Regions from separate parts of the Homo sapiens genome. Here region 2 is linked to region 1. The links are contacts of gene promoters, found by promoter capture Hi-C in blood cells and fetal thymus (Javierre and others, 2016). All regions are on one chromosome and are shown on one strand. Each heading gives the region's core, a stretch centred on a gene start or on the middle of the fragment in contact. The rest is flanking DNA. Distances are from core to core; before and after follow the strand shown.

Evidence for each region. The method cuts DNA at HindIII sites, captures the fragments that hold promoters and counts their contacts. A CHiCAGO score of 5 or more calls a contact.
Region 2: the fragment with the promoter of RETREG1 here is called in contact with the fragment with the promoter of ATPSCKMT in region 1 in 3 of 17 cell types (naive CD8 T cells, total CD4 T cells and naive CD4 T cells); the score reaches 9.7 in naive CD8 T cells.

The regions. Positions count from the first base shown.
Region 1 is chr5:10,247,702-10,252,390 of GRCh38, forward strand. It overlaps ATPSCKMT (ATP synthase c subunit lysine N-methyltransferase), which reads right to left and starts at 2,187. Exons shown (of 5, transcript NM_199133.4): 1 at 2,157-2,187. The coding sequence starts at 2,172. It overlaps CCT5 (chaperonin containing TCP1 subunit 5), which reads left to right and starts at 2,579. Exons shown (of 11, transcript NM_012073.5): 1 at 2,579-2,744. The coding sequence starts at 2,640. RefSeq lists silencers at 1,957-2,076, 2,087-2,146, 2,897-2,966, 3,037-3,176, 3,507-3,729. The HindIII fragment of the contact is 6,282 bases long and covers 1-2,548 here.
Region 2 is chr5:16,615,083-16,619,771 of GRCh38, forward strand. RETREG1 (reticulophagy regulator 1) reads right to left here and starts at 1,915. Exons shown (of 9, transcript NM_001034850.3): 1 at 1,570-1,915. The coding sequence starts at 1,889. It overlaps RETREG1-AS1 (RETREG1 antisense RNA 1), which reads left to right and starts at 844. Exons shown (of 4, transcript NR_109946.1): 1 at 844-1,404. RefSeq lists a silencer at 1,669-2,158. The HindIII fragment of the contact is 3,701 bases long and covers 1,222-4,689 here.

The DNA.
Region 1 (4,689 bases), core at 937-3,436:
CTAACGGAACATGTTCAGACTCCCAGACTATCCTATATATAAATGGCAAGAACTTTCTTTCAGGTGTTCTTTGGAACAAGGAGCCATTCTATTAAATAATGGCTGCAGTGGCCACTGGCTACTTTCATTGAGCACTTAGTAGTCCATCCTTTAAAGTCAAACACAGAATGAGGTTAACTTCTACTGTGTCCGGGCCCTGCTTGCTTATTGACTTCTAATATTGGTTGAAAACTTCAATTTTTAGTGGCAGATTTGGATCAGCTGAAGCTAGAGGCAGTGACAGATGTACAATAAGGTACCCAAGGTTCTTATCCAAGTTCAAGCCAAAAGAAAAAGGCCAAGAAGAGAGAAGGAGCCTGTTAGGAATAGTAACTAGCCACGTGTTTAAAGCGGGCTTATATCAGAATGTCACAACTCATAAGGACTGTTCATTGTGCACTTGTATGTGCATACCTGTTTAATAACTACAGCATATGTTATGTCCCTTTAGCATATATTCTTATGTCCTTAAGAAGCCTTTCTTATACTAGTCTAATGTCATTTGTGTCCTTTTGACATACATGAGCTATTGATATTAGGAAAAATCCTCTCTCACTCCCCAGTGTTTTGACAGGGAATCAACTACACAGAGGATGCCATAGGACATTCTATTTTTCACAACAATCGAAGGAGCCAAATGAATTGCAGAAGTCACCATTTTTAATGAGGAAACACTGAATTGGCAAAGCTAACGTGAAATAAGACCTGACTCCAAAATCTAAAATGTCCTTGAAGAACACTTCAAGGTCTAGCGCGTAAGTATGCCAAGCATGAAGAGTTAACAGATCACCAACCATCCCATGACAGTCAGTCCTCCCTGTTTTTAGAGACAGAATCTCGCTCTGTCGCCCAGGATGGAGTGCAGTGGCGCGATTATAGCGCACTGTAAACTGAACTCCTGGGCTCCACCCATCCTCCTGCCTCAGCCCCAGAGTAGATGGGAACACAGTCGCCAAGTCTGTTCTTGAGTTTCAGGACAGGGTCAAATGTTATAGTGCATGTATTCATTTCAGCACTTATTGAGTGCCTAATAAAGTCTGGGAATAATACAACTTTATTAGTTAAGTCCCTGCCCATGGCAGTAGGGGAGAAGCAAGGATGGAAACCCTCAACAAATAAATCTAAACCTATCAAATATTAAGTCATGATCTTGGAGGGCGGGGAGGAAGGCAGCATAAGAGATTTAGAGGACAGCTGCGGTTGCCAAGATCTTTCTGAGGCAGCATAATACAGGGCTTAAGAGTGAGACCTGCCGGGCACCGCGGTGGCTCAGGCCCAACACTTGGGGAGACCTAGACGGGTACATCACTTGAGGTCAGCCGTTCGAGACCAGCCTGGCCACTACGGCGTTAACACCGTCTCTACTAAAAATACAAAAATTAGCGAGCGTGGTGGTTCTGTGCCTGTAGTCCCAGCTGCCTGGGAGGCTGAGGCACGAGAATCACTGGAACCCGGGAGGCGGAGGCTGCAGTGAGCCGAGACCGCGCCACTGCACTCCAGCCCGGGCTACAGTCTTGTCTCAAAAAAAAAAAAAAAAAAAAAGAGTGTGGGACCCATTGCATCAGGCTGTGTAACTGTTTCTTACTAGCTGTATACCAGTGGCAAGTTACTGAACCATTTGTGCAAAATGTTAATTTATTTACCAACACTGTGTTCAGCTTGCCAGGCACCGTTCTCCTTGAATCTCACAGCAGCCCTGTGAGTAGGCACTACTGTTACCACCGTCACTTTGCAGACAGGGAACCCGAGGGACAAAGAAGTTAAGGGATTTCCTCAAAGCCACAGCTAGGAAGAGCGGCAGAACTGCGATTCCAATCCATCAGTGTGCCTCCACTATCCCTATTCCTTAAGATCGTGCCAAAGGCTGAGTCACTTGCACTAAGTAGCCTAGAACAGTCTCTGGGGAAACGCGCCCGCCGACAAGGATCGCCAGAACCGGCGCGGGCACCGCGCGGCGACCAGGAGCTCTGGTCACCGAAGGCCAGGCTGGAGGCCAGAGCAGCCGCCCGCACCCGGTCACCGCCTCGACAGTGGAGACCTCAGCTGACCGCGAGCCCCCGGCCCGCCCGCACCCCTTCTCATGCCCCCAGGAACCCGCCAAGCCGCTCCAGCCTCACCTCCTCCTCCCTCCATCGCGAGATTTCCAACAGCGTTTTTAAAAAAAAAAAAAAAAAAAAAAAAAAAAAAAAAAAAACCGGAAATGGGTCCTACCATCTTCTCGGAGCCGGAGTGCGAAGAAATAAAGAAATAGTGCTTTAAGTCAATGAATTCCTCCTTGGGACCCACTATCGAGAAACTATCAGTGGTAACGTTTTAAAAAATGACAAATTCAATCTGCTCTTGACTTGTGTGTCCTAAGATTTCCACTAAGTGTCTTCAAACCTCCCCCTCCCCGGCTTCCTGGATAATAGAAGTTCCCGAAGGCCGCCGATTCCAGAAGATACTGTCTGGCGTGAAATTAGTCTCAGTAGAAACATAAGTCCCGCGCGTCTTGTGCTGCGCGTGCGCAAGCTTTTGGGCCCTCCCGAGAAAGGGAAGTGCATTCTCGCTTCCGTAGCGGTCTCCGCCGGTTGGGGGGAAGTAATTCCGGTTGTTGCACCATGGCGTCCATGGGGACCCTCGCCTTCGATGAATATGGGCGCCCTTTCCTCATCATCAAGGATCAGGACCGCAAGTCCCGTCTTATGGGACTTGAGGCCCTCAAGGTAATGGCACAGGGACCTGCTCGCGGTGGGCTAAGGGGAGGTGGCCGAGGCCGTGGCTCTGCGCCTGCGCGAGTTGAGGAGCGGCTCTGCCATGTGCTCCCCGGAAAGGTCGAGAATCTCCGTCTCCCTGCGGTCTCCGGCCGCTCAGCCCGCTTACTGAGCTCGGGAGACGCCGGCGCCTAATCCTGGGCTCGGAATGTGGGGGCCAGCCAGGCTGGGCCGCCAGCGCCCTTCGGAGCTGGGTGGGGCCGCTCAGTCCGGTCGCCCGCGGGAGCAAAGCGGGACCGCCTCCCCGCCCGGCTCCTCCAGCCTGACGGCCGCGTGGGACTGCGCTCCAGTGGGAGGGCGCCGGGGAGATGCTCTGTCACCTGTCGGTTAAGGCGCTGCTGCTTAACCTTTCGCTGGTCCACCCGCAACGGCCCTTCCGTTTTCTTTGTCACTCGTAAAGGTGTGGTCACTTAACAGGGTATTTCATTTCTGAGTGCTTTTTTGCCCACCCTTGAGGAAAAATAGCGAAGAGTGAAAAACGGACGCACATAACCGTAATACAAGGTGGTGTGCAGTGAGAAGGACAGCTACGGAGAGGGTGCACATAAGCGTGGTGCTGGAGGACAGCTTTAGATCGGGGTGAGAGGTAGCATTCTAGGGAGAGGAAACGGTAGAAGTAAAGGCTTGGGCAAGAATGCGCATGGCACGTTGTAGAATGGAAGAGCCATCCGGTTTTAATGGAGCACTGACTTCTTTAACTTACAATAGTTCCCGAAGGTGGAAGCTATTGAATGCCCAACATGGAAAATACGACGTTATCTTTGGGGAAGAAGGGGAGCCATTGAGGGGGTTTTGAGCAGAATTTCAGTAGAGCTGCACTTCAGGCAGCAAAGCTTGAGATAGACCGAAGGGAATAAGGAAGACCAGAGGGGTTAAAGAAACCAGGGCAGGGGTGCAGGTAAGAAACATCTGAGCACCAGACGTTGACAGAAAATGCAGAGGAAGGGACACTCCGAGAGGGCCTTCAGGGTTTGTTATAAAGTGAATTCATAATAGACCATTCCACTAGGTCTCTCAGGTGTCCCTGTTCACTTAGTGTCTTGGAGGTTTACTTACGCAAAGTTAGAAACAATACAGTTCCCCTATGGACTCTTTGTTTGACTTAGTGCTAGTTACACAACCTCGCGGAACCTCCTTTTCCAGGGGGAGGTGATAGGCCTCCGTCAAGCTGAAGACTTGACAGTGATATTAAATGGAGTGACTTAGAGGGGCTGCACAGTGGTTGATCCACGGTAGGCACTCAGTATTTGTTTCCTTTCTAGAAAGAAAAAGTTTCAAGCTAATTGTATTATGTATTCCATTTTATTTTCCACTTAACAGGGACCTGCAGAGAAAATAACATCCAATACACACACCTGGTGTAACAACATAACTAAAACTAGGTTGTTTTGCATCAGCCATTTTGTTCAAACTGCATGCATTTGTGCCCAGAAGTCGCACACTCTGAGACAGGGTTATTTTACAAAACTGGGGACTTGGGCCCAGAGCAGTTGAGAAATTGTTCTGAAGAGCAGTTGCTACTAAAGAGCATTACCATGGTCAGGGCCACCGCTGTCAGAGTCAAAGCCAGTGGTCTAGAGCAGCATTCTCAAGTTTGGCATATTGACATTCGAGGTCGGATCATTCTTTGCTGTGGGAGCTCATTTGGACAGTAACCTGGGTGTTTAAGTCTCTTAAAAGAGTTGGATGCTGTTGGTAGGCATCCTGTGAGTGTTGAGGCTCAGCAGTTTAGGGATATACACTTGCTCCCTGACCTCATAGAACGTCCAGCTAACTTGAAGAACCAAAATATATGGAAATTGAAGGCAACGGTAAAAGAAATGTATAGGCCAGGACGTGAACGTTTTAATGGTAATGGTCACAGTTCTTTCTCTCTGGTCATTTAGAGCCTTAAAGG
Region 2 (4,689 bases), core at 665-3,164, 6.4 Mb after region 1:
AATAAAATTTAAAATTAAGAAATAAAATGTTAAGGCCGGGCGCAGTAGCTCACGCTTGTAATCCCAGCACTTTGGGAGGCCGAGGCGGACGGATCACGAGGTCAGGAGATCGAGACCATCCTGGCTAACACGGTGAAACCCCGTCTCTACTAAAAAAAATACAAAAAACTGGCCAGGCGTGGTGGCGGGCGCCTGTAGTCCCAGCTACTCGGGAGGCTGAGGCAGGAGAATGGCGTGAACCCGGGAGGCAGAGCTTGCAGCGAGCCGAGATCGCGCCACTGCACTCCAGCCTGGGCGACAGAGTGAGACTCCATCTCAAAAAAAAAAAAAAAAGAAAGAAAGAAAGAAAAGAAAAAGAAATAAAATGTTAAAAACATCGTAAACATTAGTGAGACACAGCCCTAAGACTATTAGACTATTGCCCAATCTAGCATAAGACAATATGTCCTTCTTATTTGAGTGCTCGCATTCACTCCATAATAAGATAGATTTGGAATAAACTCTATTCCAAACACAGATACCTAAGAGATCCAAAGTTAATTCACTTTCAGGGACCTCCGACAAGATACAGCTAGTTTTAAGAGAAAACACCAGGACTAGCAGAGATCTGAGGAAAATATTCATCTTGCTCAAGTTAACCTAGAAAATGACAGGCTGTCTATTTTGTGCAATTTATTTATTTCTCAACTTTAAGGTTCAGAAATCTCTGTCCTGTAACAAGGTATCTGTTACCGGAGTCTGATTATTCTGCACTGTGTAGGTCATGTTTGTTATGAGGACACTTAGCAAACAAAGAAGGTTTTTCTCCGCCCTCAATAGCGTGGTAACGGATGACAGGACACCACTTTCAACGAAGGAGACAGACATTTCCCTGGCCTTTCTGAAGAGCGCTTTTTGGAGAGACAAACCTGTTGCTCAGGGGCTGAGCATTCCCGTGTGTTCTCCCTGTACTTCACCTAAAAATATGCCTGTTTTCCACACTGTGCACACCCGGGGGTGGGTGCTGGGCATACTCCACCTGCTTGTTTGCCTCCCGTTTTCTCATCAGGGAGTAAACACAGTAAACCTAACGCTCCAGGGGAAGGAAAAAACAAATCATTCAGGGCCCATCTCAGGTGACTGATGAATGCGGCACCGTTTTGAACGGGTACCTAATCTGGTCCAGATATGCCTGCTGGGGCTGCAAGAACCAAGACACGTTCAAGCACGTTTGCTCCGGCAAGCTTGGGCGAGCAGGTCAAGACCTCAGAGTTTTAGAAAGCAGGGGCGAAGTTTTCAAGCACGATGGGAACACCTGTAGGTGCAGGTGCCTGAGGGTCGGCCGACCACCTCGCATCTGAGGCTGGATCCGCACACGGAGAACGACAACTGCTCACAGGGACGTGCGTCCGGAGGAAAGTTGCGGTGAGTGTCTACCTGTTCGAGACAGGTGGCCGAGAAAGTGGGGCAGGGCTGACAATTCTTCCTCCGCAGTGTCCCGCGGGCTCCCCCTGCACTGGGTCCCCGGGGCCCCGGGCGCCCCAAGGTCACCTGCCCTCCTCAGCGCCCCCACCTTGCCCAAGCTCTCACCAGAACAGCAGGTTGGCAGCGACGAAGCCGAGCAGGCTCCGCAGCGGCCTCTTCCAGCTCAGCAGCTCGTCGGCGCGGCAGCCCAGCCACAGCACCGGCTCCCCGAGCAGCCAGGTTACCGCGGCCGCCGCCCGGCCCGCGGCCTCCTCCACCTGCAACCCCGCGCCCTCCGCCGCCCCAGCTTCCTGCGCTTCCTCCTCCTGCTGCTGCCGCTCTGCGGGGGATGCCTGGGGCGGTGGCGGCGACGGCGGCGCCTGCTCCTCGGCGGCAGGAGCCGGGCATCCCTCCTCGGCGTGCTCCGGAGGCGCCGGGCTCGCCATCTTCAGCTGTGCTTCCAGACAGGGACGGGGCCGGGCGCGCGCGCGGGCGCGCCTGGGTGTGGGTGCCGCCGAGGGCGGGGCGGCGGTGGCGGCAGGTCCCGGAGCGGGGCGCGCACCGCGGGGCACAGGCGGCTGGGGGCCTTGTGACGCCACAGGCCACGGAGGGGGAGCCGCCCGGGAAAGTGGGTGCGGCCGAGTTCGCGCAGGGGCGGGGCCGGGCGCCGGGAGCTGGGCGGTGTCCCCGGGGGGCTCTGGGTTCCTGGAGGGCCTCTCCGGGACTCGAGGAAAACGACCTTTTCCCTTGCAGCGGCGGGAGAGGGCGAAGTGGAGGACTGCTGCTCGGTTCCGTATCCAAAAGAGACCCAAGGCTCCAGGCAAAATAGATTGGACATTTTCACTTTCTCAAGCCAGGGCCACCGGTCGCCCAACCAGCAGCCACTGAGGGTGGTATCGGGGCGCCCCTTCCCCTGGCAGCGTATTTCAGCCCCCAGAGACATCCCCCACCTCGGCCATCCCCAGCGCCTTTGCAGGGACAGCAGCACAACCATAGCAGAGGTCCTGGGCATCCTGGAAATAACGTGCTGGTATAAATGTTGGATTGAGAAAGGAAGAAAAAACATTTGGGGTCAATTTGGGGCCCTCTCGTTTGACACGGGAGGAAACACAAGGCCGCAGCGTTGGGGGAAGCTGCTTCCTTTCTCTCTCTTCTTTCTCTCTGTCTCAGGTGCTTCCTTTCTCTTCTCTGTCTCTCTCTCTCTCTCTGCCTCTCCCTCTCTCTCCCCCGTCTCTCCCCCTATCTTCCCCTCTCTCCTCCTATCTCCCCCTCTCTCCCCCTCCTTGTGGCTAGGTGATCTGGCTCAGAAGTGCACGTTGGCCCGCGCGTGCGGGGAGCTGAGAAGCAAGAGATTGGAACTTTGCACGTGTCAAGCAAGGTTTGGCCTGCTTTGAAGACAGTAATTTCAGAGCCACTCCGGTCTCTGCGTCACAAGCGGGCATCAGGGCAGTGGTGGGGCGGCAGGGGATCCTGAGACCTCCCATGCCCTCTCTTTGGCCCCGGTGCTTCTGGGTGAGTGTGGGGAGAGAGGAAAATAGTTGTTTATGCTTTTCACCATTTGCATTTTTAAATTTTTGTCTTCTTTAATCTTCCTGGTCTTACTTTTACTCTAGAATGACAGGTCCTTCCCCCCCATACTAAGGGTTCTGTCTGCGGATGCATCAGGGCATCTCATATCCCTTTACTGGCAACCAGCCTGCCTGCACAGGATGGAAGGGAGGGCAATTAAATTCCCTGCGTCAAGGGAGTCTCTAGGGGAATGTTCTGTAACGCTCCTCTGGGTGGCCATTGTAAACCTCTGTGTATACACACGTGGAATCCATTGATCTGTACATTCACTGCAGGTGTCTGCACTTTACTGCTTGTATGTTGTACTTCAAAGGAGTTATATTCCCAGAGCCCAGGCAAAGGCTTACTGAGCACCTACCGAGTACACAAAGCATTGCTAAGCTCTGTGGATGCAGCTTCCACCCACAGGAAGCTCCCAGTCTGATGAGGGCCCAGTTACAATTGTGATATCTGCCACAGCGAAGAAGCCTTCGCTAAGTGCTAAGAGATTCCTTACTTAAACTGTGCATCCAAAATTAGGGGAGGAGTGGAGGGATCAGGTTTCAAGAGCGTTTTGTAATAAATGGCCTCTGCCCTAAATTGTAGGGCCCCCATTAGTGTGGGGATTGGGGACAGGGGCAATAACTGCTGTTGGGAATTCAACAGGAGAGGAGGCATGGGGTTGCAGGTGGAGACGCACAGTTCCTTAAGTAACTCACCAAAGGGAATAGTGGACATTGAATGGTCTCTAGTAACAGGAGGCTTGGTTTTTAACTAAAGGTGATACAGAACATCTGGCATTTCCGACTCCCCTTCTTAGGAGTATCCTGACAACCCGATGGAAAGTGGCCTGGGTGTCAAGGAAAAAGCAACGTGGAAACAATTCAGGTTTCTTCCATATAAGAGAGACAATCTTTTCCCAGGTGTGGGTCCTCCCTCTTGGCAGTAGCGGAGAAGTTTTTGAAAGATAAATGATGCTTTTATTGTGTCATTTGGCCTTTGTTTGGCGCTTGATACAGCCCAGGGTTTGCTATTCTAAAATCTGTCACTAGACAGATGTGTGCTGCAGCCAGTGTGGAGAACATGGGGCAGGAGAGAGGAAGAACCAGGTGTCCCCGTTCCCCAGACCAGTGCTGATGTGCTACCAGAAATGGGTTTGCAAGATTAATCACCTTCCTCCTGCTTCCCTTGAATTCTAATTATTGTTGTCAGGATCTGTTGAAGTAGTAAAAGCTGCTGGCAACCAAGACACATAAAAGCTAAGCTCCAGTTGCTGTGTGTGGTTTCCAACACTTATTTATTATCTCTGTTTAATAATAAACCTCCTTCCCCACAGCTATGTGTTGTAAAGTCTATCCTTTCTCTCTCTCTCAAAATTACTATGGAGAAAATGCTATGCAACCTGTTTTGCATAAAAGGCTGGGCTAATTAACCTTTCCTTTTCACCTCCGACCTCTAATACTTACAAACTGTATGACAGAAGTAGACACTGGCATAGACATACAAATGGTGCTGCTGGGTGGGATTTTGTTGTTGTTTTGTTGTTTGTCTAATGATCTTTGTGATGCTTGAGTAATTTATTCAGGGCTAAGATTACAGAAACATAATGCTAACAATGGTTGAAATCAACCTTGTCCCCTAGTTTTAAGAACACGCCACATTCTTGAACTCCTGCAAGTAATCTTACTAAGATTCTCT